2 separate regions of the Homo sapiens genome follow, and region 2 is linked to region 1. Evidence: promoter capture Hi-C in 16 types of primary human blood cells and fetal thymus (Javierre and others, 2016). All regions are on one chromosome and are shown on one strand. Each heading gives the region's core, a stretch centred on a gene start or on the middle of the fragment in contact. The rest is flanking DNA. Distances are from core to core; before and after follow the strand shown.

Evidence for each region. The method cuts DNA at HindIII sites, captures the fragments that hold promoters and counts their contacts. A CHiCAGO score of 5 or more calls a contact.
Region 2: a contact is called between a fragment that was not itself captured here and the fragment with the promoter of TELO2 in region 1, in 1 of 17 cell types (endothelial precursors). The highest score is 5.5, in endothelial precursors.

The regions. Positions count from the first base shown.
Region 1 is chr16:1,488,265-1,494,935 of GRCh38, forward strand. It overlaps TELO2 (telomere maintenance 2), which reads left to right and starts at 5,096. Exons shown (of 21, transcript NM_016111.4): 1 at 5,096-5,341; 2 at 5,982-6,352. The coding sequence starts at 6,018. PTX4 (pentraxin 4) reads right to left here and starts at 680. Exons shown (of 3, transcript NM_001328608.2): 1 at 505-680. The coding sequence starts at 645. RefSeq lists enhancers at 4,754-4,803, 4,901-5,801 and silencers at 5,014-5,103, 5,274-5,323, 5,334-5,533. The HindIII fragment of the contact is 10,177 bases long and covers 864-6,671 here.
Region 2 is chr16:1,697,980-1,704,855 of GRCh38, forward strand. It overlaps JPT2 (Jupiter microtubule associated homolog 2), which reads left to right. Exons shown (of 5, transcript NM_144570.3): 5 at 832-4,107. The coding sequence ends at 1,019. Among named protein-coding and RNA genes, the nearest start is that of MAPK8IP3, 4.8 kb to the right of the region's middle. RefSeq lists a silencer at 6,769-6,876. The HindIII fragment of the contact is 341 bases long and covers 5,213-5,553 here.

The DNA.
Region 1 (6,671 bases), core at 3,846-6,345:
GATTCCAGCTCCTGCCTGTGAGCAGGGGACGGCAGGGTGGCCTCATGAGTGCTTTACGAGGCCCAAACAGGAAGCACCCAGCGCAGGCCCGACAGGCCCACAGCACTCCGGAACTGTCCGTGGACCCCGCGTGGGAGTCCGGGAGGCCGTTCACACCGACTGCCACAAGGTGGACCTGTGACCTCCCAGTTTCCACTCCCCATGACACTACCCGGCCCCCATGGCCCCCAGTTCCCCTGACTCCCTTCCAGACCCCCTTCTAGCCTCTGGCCCCACCTGACCCCCACATGTTATGAGGCTTGTGTCCTGTGTGAGTGGAGCCCAGCTCAGCTCTTCCCTGGTGTCCAACTGCAGGTGAAATAATCTTCATGGATGGAAAGAGCGTCACACGCGGTGTTCGTGTCCGCCAAGCCCTGATGTTTACCAATCTGCTTCTGTAACATCCGTCTTCCATCTGCTGCCAATTTAAAAACCCGACTGCGCCATGTCAGGGGTATAACTTGCCTGTTCCTCCAGCCTACGGAGCCTCTCGAAAAACGGTTTCCTGGGCCCCACTGGGGCGGCTTCCTGCGATGAAGCCCCATGTAGATATATAGGCACAAAAACAAGGAAGAAAGACAAGGTCTTCCTCCACGAGCAACCCATCCGGAGAGACGGCAAGGCCCCAGCAGTCTCCCTCCAGCCGCAGGAGAGGGTGAAGGTGGCTCCGTGGGTCTGTCTTGTGTCTCGTCCCCCCAGCTCTCCTGTTGAGTGGTTTTCCTTCTTTGGCCCTGGCTGGATGTCAGGTTCTTCCTGCCGCCTCCATGAAAGGCATCTGCCTTCAAGCCAGTGGGCTCTGAGACTTGCAGGTTCCTAAGGAGACAAGCTTAAAACAGATGCAAACAGTTTCTTTGAAGAATCATTCAGCTGGGTGCAAGCCCGCGGGCAGGAGGCGATGGCTTTAACAGGAGCACATGGACTTGTGCTCCCGAGAAGTCGAAGCAAGACAGGGAACCCGACGGGGGCTGGGGAGTCAACAGAGCCAGGTCTGCACAGGCACCCATCACCCAGGCCGTGCACGGCTGCATCCTGGGAGGCCCCGTCTCTCTCAGTAAAGCAATGGAAATGTGACTGGGAGCCACCTTAATTAATTAATTATTATTATTATTTGAGATGGAGTCTCGTTCTGTTGCCTAGGCTAGAGTGCAATGGCGCAATCTCAGCTCACTGCAACCTCTGCCTCCCCGGCTCAAGCGATTCTCCTTCCTCAGCCTCCTGCCTCCTGAGGAGCTGGGATTACAGGCGTGCTTTACCATGCCCGGCTAATTTTAGTATTTTTAGTAGAGATGGGGTTTCACTATGTTGGTCAGGCTGGTCTCAAACTTCTGACCTCATGATTTGCCTGCCTCAGCCTCCCTAAGTGTTCGGATTACAGGCATGAGCCACTGCGCCTGGCCAATTAATTAATTTTTTTGACGGAGTCTTGCTCTGTCACCCAGGCTGGAGTGCAGTGGTGCGATCTCCGCTCACCACAAGCTCCGCCTCCTGGGTTTAACGGATTCTCCTGTCTCAGCCTCCCAAGTAGCTGGGATTACAGGTATGTGCCCCCACATCCGGCTAATTTTTGTATTTTTAGTAGAGACGGGGTTTCACCATGTGGGCCAGGCTGGTCTCAAACTCCCGACCTCAGGTGATCCACCCGCTGTAGCCTCCCGAAATGCTGGGATTACAGGCATGAGCCACCGCGCCCGGCCAATTTTTGTATTTGTAGTAGAGACGGGGTTGCCCCATGTGGGCCAGGCTGGTATTTTTGGTTACAGGTTGTGTACTGGCTTGAATGAGACCCTCCTAAAAACACACATAAGCCCCAGGCAGGGCCTTATGTGGAAAAGGTCTCTGCGGATGTCATGAAGGATTTTGAGATGAGACCATCCTGGATTATCCAGGTGGCCCTAAAGCCAATGACAGGGGTACAAGAGACAGAGGAGGAGGCACAGAGGACACGGCCTGTGAAGATGGGGCAGAGACTGGGGTGACGCTGCCACGAGGAACCCCCAGAGGCCCCAGAAGCTGGAAGAGGTAAAGTGGGAACCCCCAGCCCAGAGCCTTCGAGGGAGTGTGCACCTTCACTTCAAGACTTCCAGCCCCCAGAACTGTGATAGGACTCATTTCTGTTGTTTCAAGCCGCCCAGCTCATGGGAATAAGATCATCCACAAAGTTGTCCCACTGGGGGCATCCATCATTCCCAAGGTGGCATGAGCCAAGAGGGTGCCAGGCCAGGAAACCATCGGTGGCCCCCAGGCTCCCCTTGTCAAGCGTCAGAACACCATGGACATGGAGAAGATGCAGAAAGCATCGGAGAGAACATCCTGGGCACATGGACGGGGTTGGGGCCTTAGGCCCCGGGGGACTGGCAGCCACCAGGACAGCGACGCTGGTGCCACACACAGAGCGGCGGATCTCGCAGCTTCCAACTGACAGTGAGTTCCATTTATTTATGTATTTATTTTATTTCGGTAGAGAAGGGTCTTGCTATGTTGCCAGGCTGTTCTCAAACACTCCTGGGCTCAAGCAATCCTCCCAGCTCAGCCTAGCCAAAGTGCTGGGTTTACTGGCGTGAGCCACTGAGCCTGCCTGATTTCCATTTAAAGTTGTGGGTCGGGGCAGGGTGTGGTGGCTCTCTCCTGTAATCCCAGCACTTTGTGAGGTCAAGGTGGGCAGATCACTTGAGTCCAGGAGATCGAGACCAGGCTGGGCAACATGGCAAAACCCCGTCTCTACTAAAATTACAAAAATCAGCCAGACGTGGTGGTGTGCACCTGCAGTCCCAGCTACTTGGAAGGCTAAGGCGGGAGGATCGCCTGAGCCGGGGAGAAGGAGGTTGCAGTGAGCTGAAATCGCGCCACTACACTCCAGCCTGGGTGACAGAGCAAAGAATAAAGACATTTTCAGACACACAAAGGCTTGAGAAATTTGTCCTCCAAGCACCCACTGTTGGATGCGGGGCTTCAGGAAAAGAAGGGAATAGGGAAGGACGGAGCTGCCGTGGGCACTGGCGAGGGCTGGAACCCAGCAGCGGACGGAGGAGGAGTTTCCGGGATGATGGGATGCTGCCTGCCCCATATCCCATCCATCAGCTCTGCCTGCAGAGACATGCCCTGAGTTCAGCTGCTTCTCTACACCCCCATTCCGCCCCAAGCTCATCCTCACAATGGCCACCTAGTCCCCTCGTCCGTGTCGCCCCCCTACCGTCTGCTCTCCTAACTGCACCAGCATGGACCCGTGCCTTCAATGGCTCCAGGAGATGCCTGCCACACAAGCAAAATCTTAGTCCCTGCGAGGGCCTTCTGTGGCCTGGCCCACTGCCTCACTCCCTCCAGGCCTCACCCCTGCATATGCCTCCCTCGGCTCCACCTCCCGGGCAACAGTTGCGGCCTCAGGCCTTTGCACCTGCCGTTTTCCTGCCAGTGAGACTCTTCCCTGGCTGTCAACACATTCAGGGCTCTGCTCTAAGGTGTTCTGTTCAGAGCTCTCACCTTACGTAAGACAGCACCCACTGCTCTCTGGCTCTTTTCTTTTTTTTTTTTTTTGGAGGAGTCTCGCTCTGTCACCCAGGCTGGAGTTCAATGGCACAATCTCCACTCATTGCAACCTCTGCCTCCTGGGTTCAAGCAATTCTCCTGCCTCAGCCTCCCAAGTAGCTGGGATCACAGACACATGCCACCACGCCCAACTAATTTTTGTATTACTATTATTATTATTATTATTCTTTTTTTAGGAGAGACGGGGTTTCACCATGTTGGCCAGGCTGGTCTCGAACTCCTGAGCTTGTGACCCACCCGTCTCGGCCTCCCTAAGTGCTGGGATTAGAGGTGTGAACCACTGTGCCCGGCCACTGGCTCTTATTTTCTTACCCTACCGGTTTTTTATTTTGATTCCTTTTTTTTTTTTGAAACAGGGTCTTGCTCTGTTGTCCAGGCTGGAGTGCAGTGGCAGTGAACATGGCTCACTGCAGCCTCAACCTCCCGGGCTCAAGCCATCCTCCCACCTCAGCCTCCTGAGTAGCTGGGATCACAGGCTCATGACACCGTGCCTGGCTAATTTTTAAATTTTTTGTAGAGACAGGGTCTCACTATTTTTCCCATTCTTGAACTTCTGGGTGCAAACGATTCTCCCACCTCAGCTTCCCAGTGCTGGAATTACCGGCGTGAGCCACCGGGCCCGGCCTCTGCCAGTTTTTCTGCTCGAGGCCTGTCACCTGGCATATTTCGTATGTACTTTATCTGTTCCCCCGATAGGTGAGCAGGAACTTTGCATCATTTGTTGCTCAGAAGGCTTGGTGCACCAAGCAGGCATTTAATCAATGTTTGTTGAATGGATAACTGTTCCCCAGCTTTTCCCACATCCATCACTGCTGAAATGGCGCCTCTTTAGGTGTCTTCCTGGATTGCCCCCTCCACAAAGATGAAGCCCCCCACACTCCGCTGCGGTGTACAGAAGGCACTGCATGTTGTAAATGTTCAGTGTCCGGCTGTCCAGCCTGGCGGCCACAGCCAAAGGTAGTACCGAGCCCTTGAGATGGGGCTAGTGCTGCAAGGGAACTGGACTTATTTAACTTCAGTTAATTTACAGAGCCACATGCGTCTAGCGCTTACCCTACTGGTCGCAGTTTTTATTCCACGACCCGGCCTCATTTACGGAGCTGCAATTGTTCAGATCTGACATGATCTCAACTGCTCTTTTACTTCCTTGTGTACCGTGCGTTTCCCTTACTGGCCTCTGACCCTTGAAAGCAGAGCCTTACATCCGGGGAAGACGAGCCAGGCCTGTCTTGGTAAACATCTGCCTTAGAGCGAACGCTCGGCGTTCTGGAGAGAATGTGGGACCCGAGGCGGAGGGAAGAGACGGCTGACATCACTCCAGGGTAGGGACGACCGAGATGGGAGAAACTAAGGCGAGAACCCACCACCCGGGCGCAGCGAACCCAGCTCGCAGCCACGTGGGGAAGCGCGGCCCTGCCCTCAGGCCCCGCCCCACTCACGCGTCAGGCCCCGCCCACCCCACCGCCCCCCGCTCCCGCGTCCAGGCTCCGCCCCGTCCCCGCGCAGCGCAGGCGCAGATGCGCCCTCCCGCCTGGCGTCCTCCGCAGATTCGCGCTGAGAGGCCCGCGGAGACCCGCCCCAGAGGCTCAAGAAAACCCGCGGGAGCCTCGCCCGGACCCAGGAACTCGTGCTCGGGGCCAACCGGCTGGGCCGCGATCGCGTTTCGTCCGGGGCCGCGGCGGCCGTGGGGAATCGGCTGCAGCGAATCGGTGGCGCGCGGCGCCTGAGCGCGCTGCAGTCACCCGGGAGCCGGGTCCAGGTCGGGTTGGGGGTCGGGGATCGGGGATCGGGGGTCCGGTTGGGTCGGGTTGGGCTCCAGGTCTGGTTGGGTCGGGTCCAGGTCGGGTAGGAGTCCGGTCGGGGTCCGGGTACAGGTCGGGGTCCGGGCCTGGATCGGGGGCGGGTCCGCGTGCGGCTCCTCTAGCCCCGAACCCGTGTTCCCCGTAAGCTGTTGGTTTCTAAGGGGCGGAGGAATGGCGACTGGAGCCACCTCTCACCGCTCAGGGAGCCGGGAGGGCCGGCAGCTCCCGCGGGCCGAGTTTCCCGCCTTGGGTGCGAGGACGCGTGGGGCCGCGCTGTGCCCGGGGAACACTCACCAGCATCTCTAGCCTCCACCTCCCTCTCGCGCCAGTGGCACTCCCGGTTGAGACAACTGAGAATGTTCCCTGGGCACAGTGGCCCGGGTTGAGAAGCCCTGCAGTGGCTGGTAGCGTTGGGGTCCGAGCGGAGGAGCGAACTCTGGGTGGAAACCGGCAGGCACTGGAGGGGAAGGAGGCGGGACAGGGTTGGGTGGGACCAGGGTTGAGGGGTGTGGGGTCTCGGGGCGCTCACCGAGGGGCTTCCTGAGCTTGTGTGGATTATTTCCGTGCCCCAAGCTGAGCCCTGTGTCCATGTCACAGGTCGTCTTCCCGTGACGCCCAGATCTGTCCTGCAGGATGGAGCCAGCACCCTCAGAGGTTCGACTCGCCGTCCGGGAAGCCATTCATGCCCTCTCGTCTTCGGAGGATGGCGGCCACATCTTCTGCACCCTGGAGTCCCTGAAGCGGTATCTCGGTGAGATGGAGCCTCCAGCGCTCCCGAGGGAGAAGGAGGAGTTTGCCTCGGCCCACTTCTCGCCTGTCCTCAGATGTCTTGCCAGCAGGCTGAGCCCAGCCTGGCTGGAGCTGCTGCCCCATGGCCGCCTGGAGGAGCTGTGGGCCAGCTTCTTCCTGGAGGGCCCGGCGGACCAAGCCTTCCTGGTGTTGATGGAGACCATCGAGGGTGCTGCGGGGTGAGTGGGCTGGGCCCATCCTGGGGTTGCCGGTAGCCTCAGAAGTGATGAGAGTGGCTTGAAGGACTGGACCAAGAGCCTCTCTAGTCCCTGTGAGGGGCTAGAGAGAGAGCCTGCTCCTGGCTGAACCCCTGAACAGAAGAAGCGGTCTGTGTCTGTCTCCTTTGCGACGGGAGGCACCTGCTGTGTCTCACAAAGTCCCCCACTTGCTCCCCGTCCGGCTGTGTCAGAGAGGGATGGGGTGGGAGTGTTCACATCCCAGGCGGCAGAGGCAGCCCGTCAGCTGGGGACGTTCCAGGTTTTCCAGGGAAGCACAGCT
Region 2 (6,876 bases), core at 4,133-6,632, 210 kb after region 1:
AAACGAGCTCAGGTGTATCCACTGCAAGAGGATTCAGCATTTGAAGAAGGCTAGGGTGAAACCCTGGGACTTGGTTGTCTTGCTCATCAGCCTAGGCCCAGGGCCATGGGGTCGTCTCCTAGAAGCTCATCTGTGTAGTGATGGGCAGGGATCCCAAACCTTCAGTGAACTCATGACCAAGCATAGAGCTGGCAGAACTAATCGAGAAGAGAGGGGCACAAGAGAGGGATGGAGGATGGGGAGGCGGGTGTCTCCATGGTGAGTCACCCCGGGGGAGTGAGCCACTGCTCAGGTTGAGCGGCAGACTTCGACTCTCCCCACGGCTCTTTAGCCTGACCATGGGCATCGGTTTCTGCCTTTGGGTCTCCATTTCCCTTAACTAATGACCAAGATTTGTGGGATTTCATTCACCTTTGAAAAGCCCAGGGTAACAGCAACAGAGCCTGCCTTTGCCTTGCTAAGCCCTCACCTAGGATGCATTCCCTCGCCGCCTCATGGTCACTCTCAGGGGCTTGCTTTCTATACTTGAGATGGAAGAAATGGGAGTGGTGTCTAACAAGCAATATAAAGAAACAATTCACTTAGGAAGAAATCAAGGAGTATTTACAGTAGCAAGCCCCAACTTTATGCCCATTTCAAAACTGCATCTGCTAATTACAGTGAGTTGTTTTGGTACCAGATGAAAAGCCTGTCTATATTGTCTTCTCTTTCCCAGTTACAGCATGAATTTCTTGCAGGTTGCTCTATGACACACTTTTTATTTCCACAGCCTGCCTGTCAGGGTCATGGGTTGCCTCTAATGGGATGTTGTTCTAACTTTGTGTCCCACAGCTGCAAGGAGCATCCCGGCTGGAGCAGAGCCAGGTGAGAAAGGCAGCGCCAGAAAAGCAGGCCCCGCCAAGGAGCAGGAGCCCATGCCCACAGTCGACAGCCATGAGCCCCGGCTGGGGCCGCGGCCTCGCTCTCACAACAAGGTCCTGAACCCACCGGGAGGCAAATCCAGCATCTCCTTCTACTAAGAGAAGCCACTGCTCCACCCGGAGCCAGACCAGAAACTCAAGAGATAGGGTAGCCATGTTTTCATTTCCTTTTGCCCAAATGAGCGGGGTGGGAAGAGGGTTAGTCTTATGTGAGCCTGGCTGCTCAGCGTCTCCTGGCCGTCATGACAGCTGCTTGGAGACCCGTGCCTTCCAGATGGCTGGGAGATGCCTCTGTGGGGATGAAATGGGGCACCCCTGGCCATCACTCATGTGTAGTCCAGGTTTGAGAGGAACTGGAAGGGGGGTGAGGGTGGGGAGGTGGGGCAGGGCATGGTCCTTGGATCAACAGCCCGCCAGCTGATTGGATGTCTAGGAATGACTGAAAGAAACCAAAACAGCCTGTCCACTGCTGCTGTGGGATGGAGGAGGCGTAAGCAGAAACACTAACAGTATATTGACCTCTTAGCAGAACCGCTTCCATTCTGGAGATCACGGCTGCTAAATCCAGCATCCCCACTTCATTTTACCCCCAGCATATTGTTCTGTAGTCTTTTCTTGAAACATCTTGATTGCTTTTCCTCGGCAGCTTTCAAAAAACCAAATAATAATAGTTATCCGTCTTCTACTTCATGGAAGATTGTTTTGGTGCCCTGACCCTCTGAAGTGCCCAGTTCCTGCCATCTGAAACCTCGGCCTGATCTGATCTCATGTTGGAATCTGCCTGTCTTTCACACAGGGCTGGTCTTGGTCCTTTACATGCCAGTTTTGCTTGTGAATTCTTGCTTTTTTCCTCTCATCAGCCTTAAGTTTAGGCGTTTGTTGTTCTCCAGTGATGTAGACAGTTCCCTTCACAAGTCACAGTTCTTCCCATAAATGAGGCCCGCTGACCTCTGCGGGACTTTAAAAATCTATTCAGATATTTCCGAGTAAGTGGCTTGTTTAAATTCTTCCTGTGTCTTTCTTTATTCCTTAATTGGTTGGTGGAAAGAAGAGATGCTTGGGAACCTTGGGTTCTTAGGTTTGGATTCTTTAATAATATCTAAAAAGCTAAATTTTAAATACCAGCTTTACATAAATGATTGTTGACTCTGGTCTGTTTCTGACACCTTTCCAGAAAAAAGTCAATTGTTCAGGTACACCAAAGAGGAAGAAGAGCTGTGGAGGCCACCCTCTACAAAGCTTTATAGAACTTCTGGATCTAACTCACAAACAAGCTTCCAGAAGAGACTAGAGACCTTAGGCCAGGAGATGAAGGAGTTCAGTAGCAAAGTCACACCTGTCCAATTCCCTGAGCTTTGCTCACTCAGCTAATGGGATGGCAAAGGTGGTGGTGCTTTCATCTTCAGGCAGAAGCCTCTGCCCATCCCCCTCAAGGGCTGCAGGCCCAGTTCTCATGCTGCCCTTGGGTGGGCATCTGTTAACAGAGGAGAACGTCTGGGTGGCGGCAGCAGCTTTGCTCTGAGTGCCTACAAAGCTAATGCTTGGTGCTAGAAACATCATCATTATTAAACTTCAGAAAAGCAGCAGCCATGTTCAGTCAGGCTCATGCTGCCTCACTGCTTAAGTGCCTGCAGGAGCCGCCTGCCAAGCTCCCCTTCCTACACCTGGCACACTGGGGTCTGCACAAGGCTTTGTCAACCAAAGACAGCTTCCCCCTTTTGATTGCCTGTAGACTTTGGAGCCAAGAAACACTCTGTGTGACTCTACACACACTTCAGGTGGTTTGTGCTTCAAAGTCATTGATGCAACTTGAAAGGAAACAGTTTAATGGTGGAAATGAACTACCATTTATAACTTCTGTTTTTTTATTGAGAAAATGATTCACGAATTCCAAATCAGATTGCCAGGAAGAAATAGGACGTGACGGTACTGGGCCCTGTGATTCTCCCAGCCCTTGCAGTCCGCTAGGTGAGAGGAAAAGCTCTTTACTTCCGCCCCTGGCAGGGACTTCTGGGTTATGGGAGAAACCAGAGATGGGAATGAGGAAAATATGAACTACAGCAGAAGCCCCTGGGCAGCTGTGATGGAGCCCCTGACATTACTCTTCTTGCATCTGTCCTGCCTTCTTTCCCTCTGCGAGGCAGTGGGGTGGGATTCAGAGTGCTTAGTCTGCTCACTGGGAGAAGAAGAGTTCCTGCGCATGCAAGCCCTGCTGTGTGGCTGTCGTTTACATTTGGGAGGTGTCCTGTATGTCTGTACGTTGGGGACTGCCTGTATTTGGAAGATTTAAAAACCTAGCATCCTGTTCTCACCCTCTAAGCTGCATTGAGAAATGACTCGTCTCTGTATTTGTATTAAGCCTTAACACTTTTCTTAAGTGCATTCGGTGCCAACATTTTTTAGAGCTGTACCAAAACAAAAAGCCTGTACTCACATCACAATGTCATTTTGATAGGAGCGTTTTGTTATTTTTACAAGGCAGAATGGGGTGTAACAGTTGAATTAAACTTAGCAATCACGTGCTCAGAGCTTTTGCCTGTCAGTTGTGTGTGTCCCTTATAGTCCCTTCCCCCACAGCTCTTGCTGAAAGAGTTTGCCTTGTTTTGTTTTGTTGTTTTGTATTTAGCCAGAGGATGCCAAAATTAGTCTTCTCAAAGCTTTGAGTAGAGTAAGTGTGGGAATAAGCCAGTTTTTTTTTTTCTGTTTCTGTAACTTAAATGAACGGGTTTTTTTCCCTTGTATGCCACTTGTCCTAACATGTCCTTAAGGTGTTTAACCTGCCTCTGACCTGGCTTGCAATGCATAGGTGAGGAGAAGCAGAGAGCTTGTCATATGCAAGTCCTGTCAAGAAAACAGGTGGGCATGGTGGCTCAGGTCTGTAGTCTTTGGGTCTTTGGGAGGCCAGGGTGGGAGGATCACTTGAGCTCAGGAGTTTGAGACCAGCCTAGACAACATACTACGACCCTGTCTATACAAAAAAAAACTTCTCTAAATTAGCCGGATGTGGTGGTGCATGCCTGTAGTCCCAGCTACTCGGGAGGCTGAGTGAGGCAGGAGGATCACTTGAGACCAGGAGGTTGTGGCTGTAGTGAGTGATGATCATGCCACTGCACTTCAGCCTGGACCACAGAGCAAGACCCTGTGTAAAAAAATAAAATAAAAAACAGATTGGATGTCTTTCTTCTGATGTATTAGCTATTTTCATATGTTTTCTAACATACTTAATATCCTTACAGGCATTATGTGGATTCAGGGTAAACTTCTCAGACTGTGAGCCTGAGAGTTCCTCTCTAGGAGGCTCCACACCATTCTGCCTGCTAGATCGGGGCCAGATGAGATGAAAGTCAACGCTTGAGAAAGAAAACCAACATGCATTAACTGAAACACCGTCTTCACTTGTTCATCCACAGGGTATAGAGCGAGTTCCAAGAACCAGGCTAGGAAATGACACGCTAAGTTTCCTATTTCTAGCAGCTGCCAAGGCCACCAGCAAGCATGGGAACCTCTGGGAGTCACAGCTCCTCCGTCTCCAGAGGCCTGGCAGTGGCCAAGTCTAGAAGGACGCGGGTGCCACCTGGTACAGGGTGAGGGTGTGAATAACAGACCCCGAAGGGTTGCCACCTCGAGCCCCGTGCCTTGTCCAGGAATACACAGGCTCTTTTGATGTCAGGTAACTTTGCCATATGATCTTTGTGGTGTACCTGGTAGGTCACACCCTGTGAGTGTGTAGATGCCTCCTCCCGTGCTGGCTGCTTAATTTCTTCTGCACTCATAATCCTGACCATCTTGAAGATCATCACTGAAATACTCCTGTGTAATGTGTGGCTACAAAGTGCTATCTAAAGATGCTCTCTCAAACTCAGCTCATGAAGATGAGAGGAACATCACAGGGAACTGTGTGGCTTCTTAGCAGGCATCAGGGCAGATACTTAGAAATTAAAGTTGAATTTTAGAAACTTACATTTTATATTTTAATGCCCATCTTACATTTTAAGGTATTTTAGTGAGAAAAAGTTGCATCCCAAATAGTATTTCTGAATCTGAAAGGAAGTCAACTCCTCTGTTACTAGAAGTTCGTTCTTCTTTTTTTTTAGACAGAGCCATTCTGTCACCCAGGCTGGAGTGCAGTGGCACAATCTGCTCACTGCAGCCTCAACCTCCCAGGCTCAAGTGATCCTCCCACCTCAGCCTCCCAAGTAGCTGGGACTGCAGGCATGCACCACCACGCCTGGCTGATTTTTTTTTTTTTTTGGTAGAGTCTGGGTTTCACTATGTTGCCCGGGCTGGTCTCAAGCTTCTGGATTCAAGCGATCCTCCCTCCTTGGCCTCCCAAAGTGCTGGGATTACTGGTGTAAGCCACTATGCCCAGCTGTAAGCAGTTCTAATTCAGCACCAACTTTCAGGAGAAGACCAGTTGTATGATTCCATAAGTGTCAAGAATTATCCAGCACCTTGTTAAAATTTCATTTTAACCAACTTAAAGTAACAAATCTGTGCAATCATGGTAGTGATAATTAATCAATTGAGTTGATGGCCAAGTCTGTTGGCCTCTCCCTGTGGTAGCATTGTTCCTACTGTAGTGTGCTACCTCAGGAATTCAAAGGGCTCAAGTTTCTCAAAGGTATAAAGCAGAAGCTTTAAACATCCCCCAAAATGCAAGCTTGCTCTAACTTGTTCACCAGGAAGAATTATAGATTACATCTGTTTGCCCAGCCTTATCATTTTCACTTTATGGAACCTCACAACTCTCCGTAACCTTTATCGCACGTTATTTGCTGGAGATGGCGCCATGCTCCTTTCATGGATTAGCTGACATTCCTAATAGGCTGGATATTTTAGGCTGTTTTGCAGGCTTAGAAACAGAGATTTGGGGCCAGGCACGGTGGCTCATGCCTGTAATCCCAACACTGGGAGGCTGAGGTGGGTGGATCACCTGAGGTCAGGAGTTTGAGACCGGCCTGACCAGTATGGTGAAACCCCCATCTCTACTAAAAATTACAAAAATTAGCCAGGCGTGGTAGCACATGCCTGTAGTCCCAGCTACTCGGGAGGCTGAGGCAGGAGAATGGCTTGAACACGGGGGGCGGAAGTAACAGTGAGCTGAGATGGTGCCACTGCACTCCAGCCTGGGCCACAGACTGAGACTCCATCTCAGGAAAAAAAAAAAAAGAAAAGAAAAGAAATGGAGATTTGGCAAAATTAAGTCACTTGGGATCCCAGGAAATTGGAATCTGAGGCTGAATGAAACCTCTTAGTGGGATGGTTGAACATGTATACGGCAAATTATGTTGCAAGTGGAAAATGTGAAAAACACAATAGAGCCTGGCATGGTGGCTCACACCTGTCATCTAAGCACTTTGGGAGGCCAAGGGGGAGGATCGCTTGAGGCCAGGAGTTCAAGACCAGCCAGAGTAACAGTGAGACCTCTGTCTCTACAAAAATGTTTTTAAAATTGGCCAAGCAGTGGTGGCTTACACCTGTAGACCCAACTACTTAGGAGGCTGAGGTGGGATCACTTGAGCCTAAGAGTTCAAGTGAGCCCTGATCATGCCAGTGCCTCCAGCCTGAGCAACAGGGTGAGACCCTGCCTCTAAAAACTGAACAACAAAAAAAATCAGTAGGGTGTCAGCTACGGGAGTTACTGTTTCGGTGCAATCAGATTAGGATGAGAGGATCTGAACTGATGAGCATTGCAGTAGGTGAAAGACGGTAAGTGGCCATTTCTATTAGCATTAAATAGTCACTGATGTGGTTTCATCAGGATTCACAATACATGTGTGGCTCCCAAATTGAGTTTCAAAGTCTTGGGTTCATGGTGTCCCCTGCCCAGCAAAATAAAGTGCAAATCTTACGGAGCAACACATTTTAAGTTCAGGCCTCAAGTACTTCCAGAGACAAAAGTCCTGGGGACACTGGCTCAGAATGGGGGAAAGGGGACCCTGGGCCAAGAGTCAAC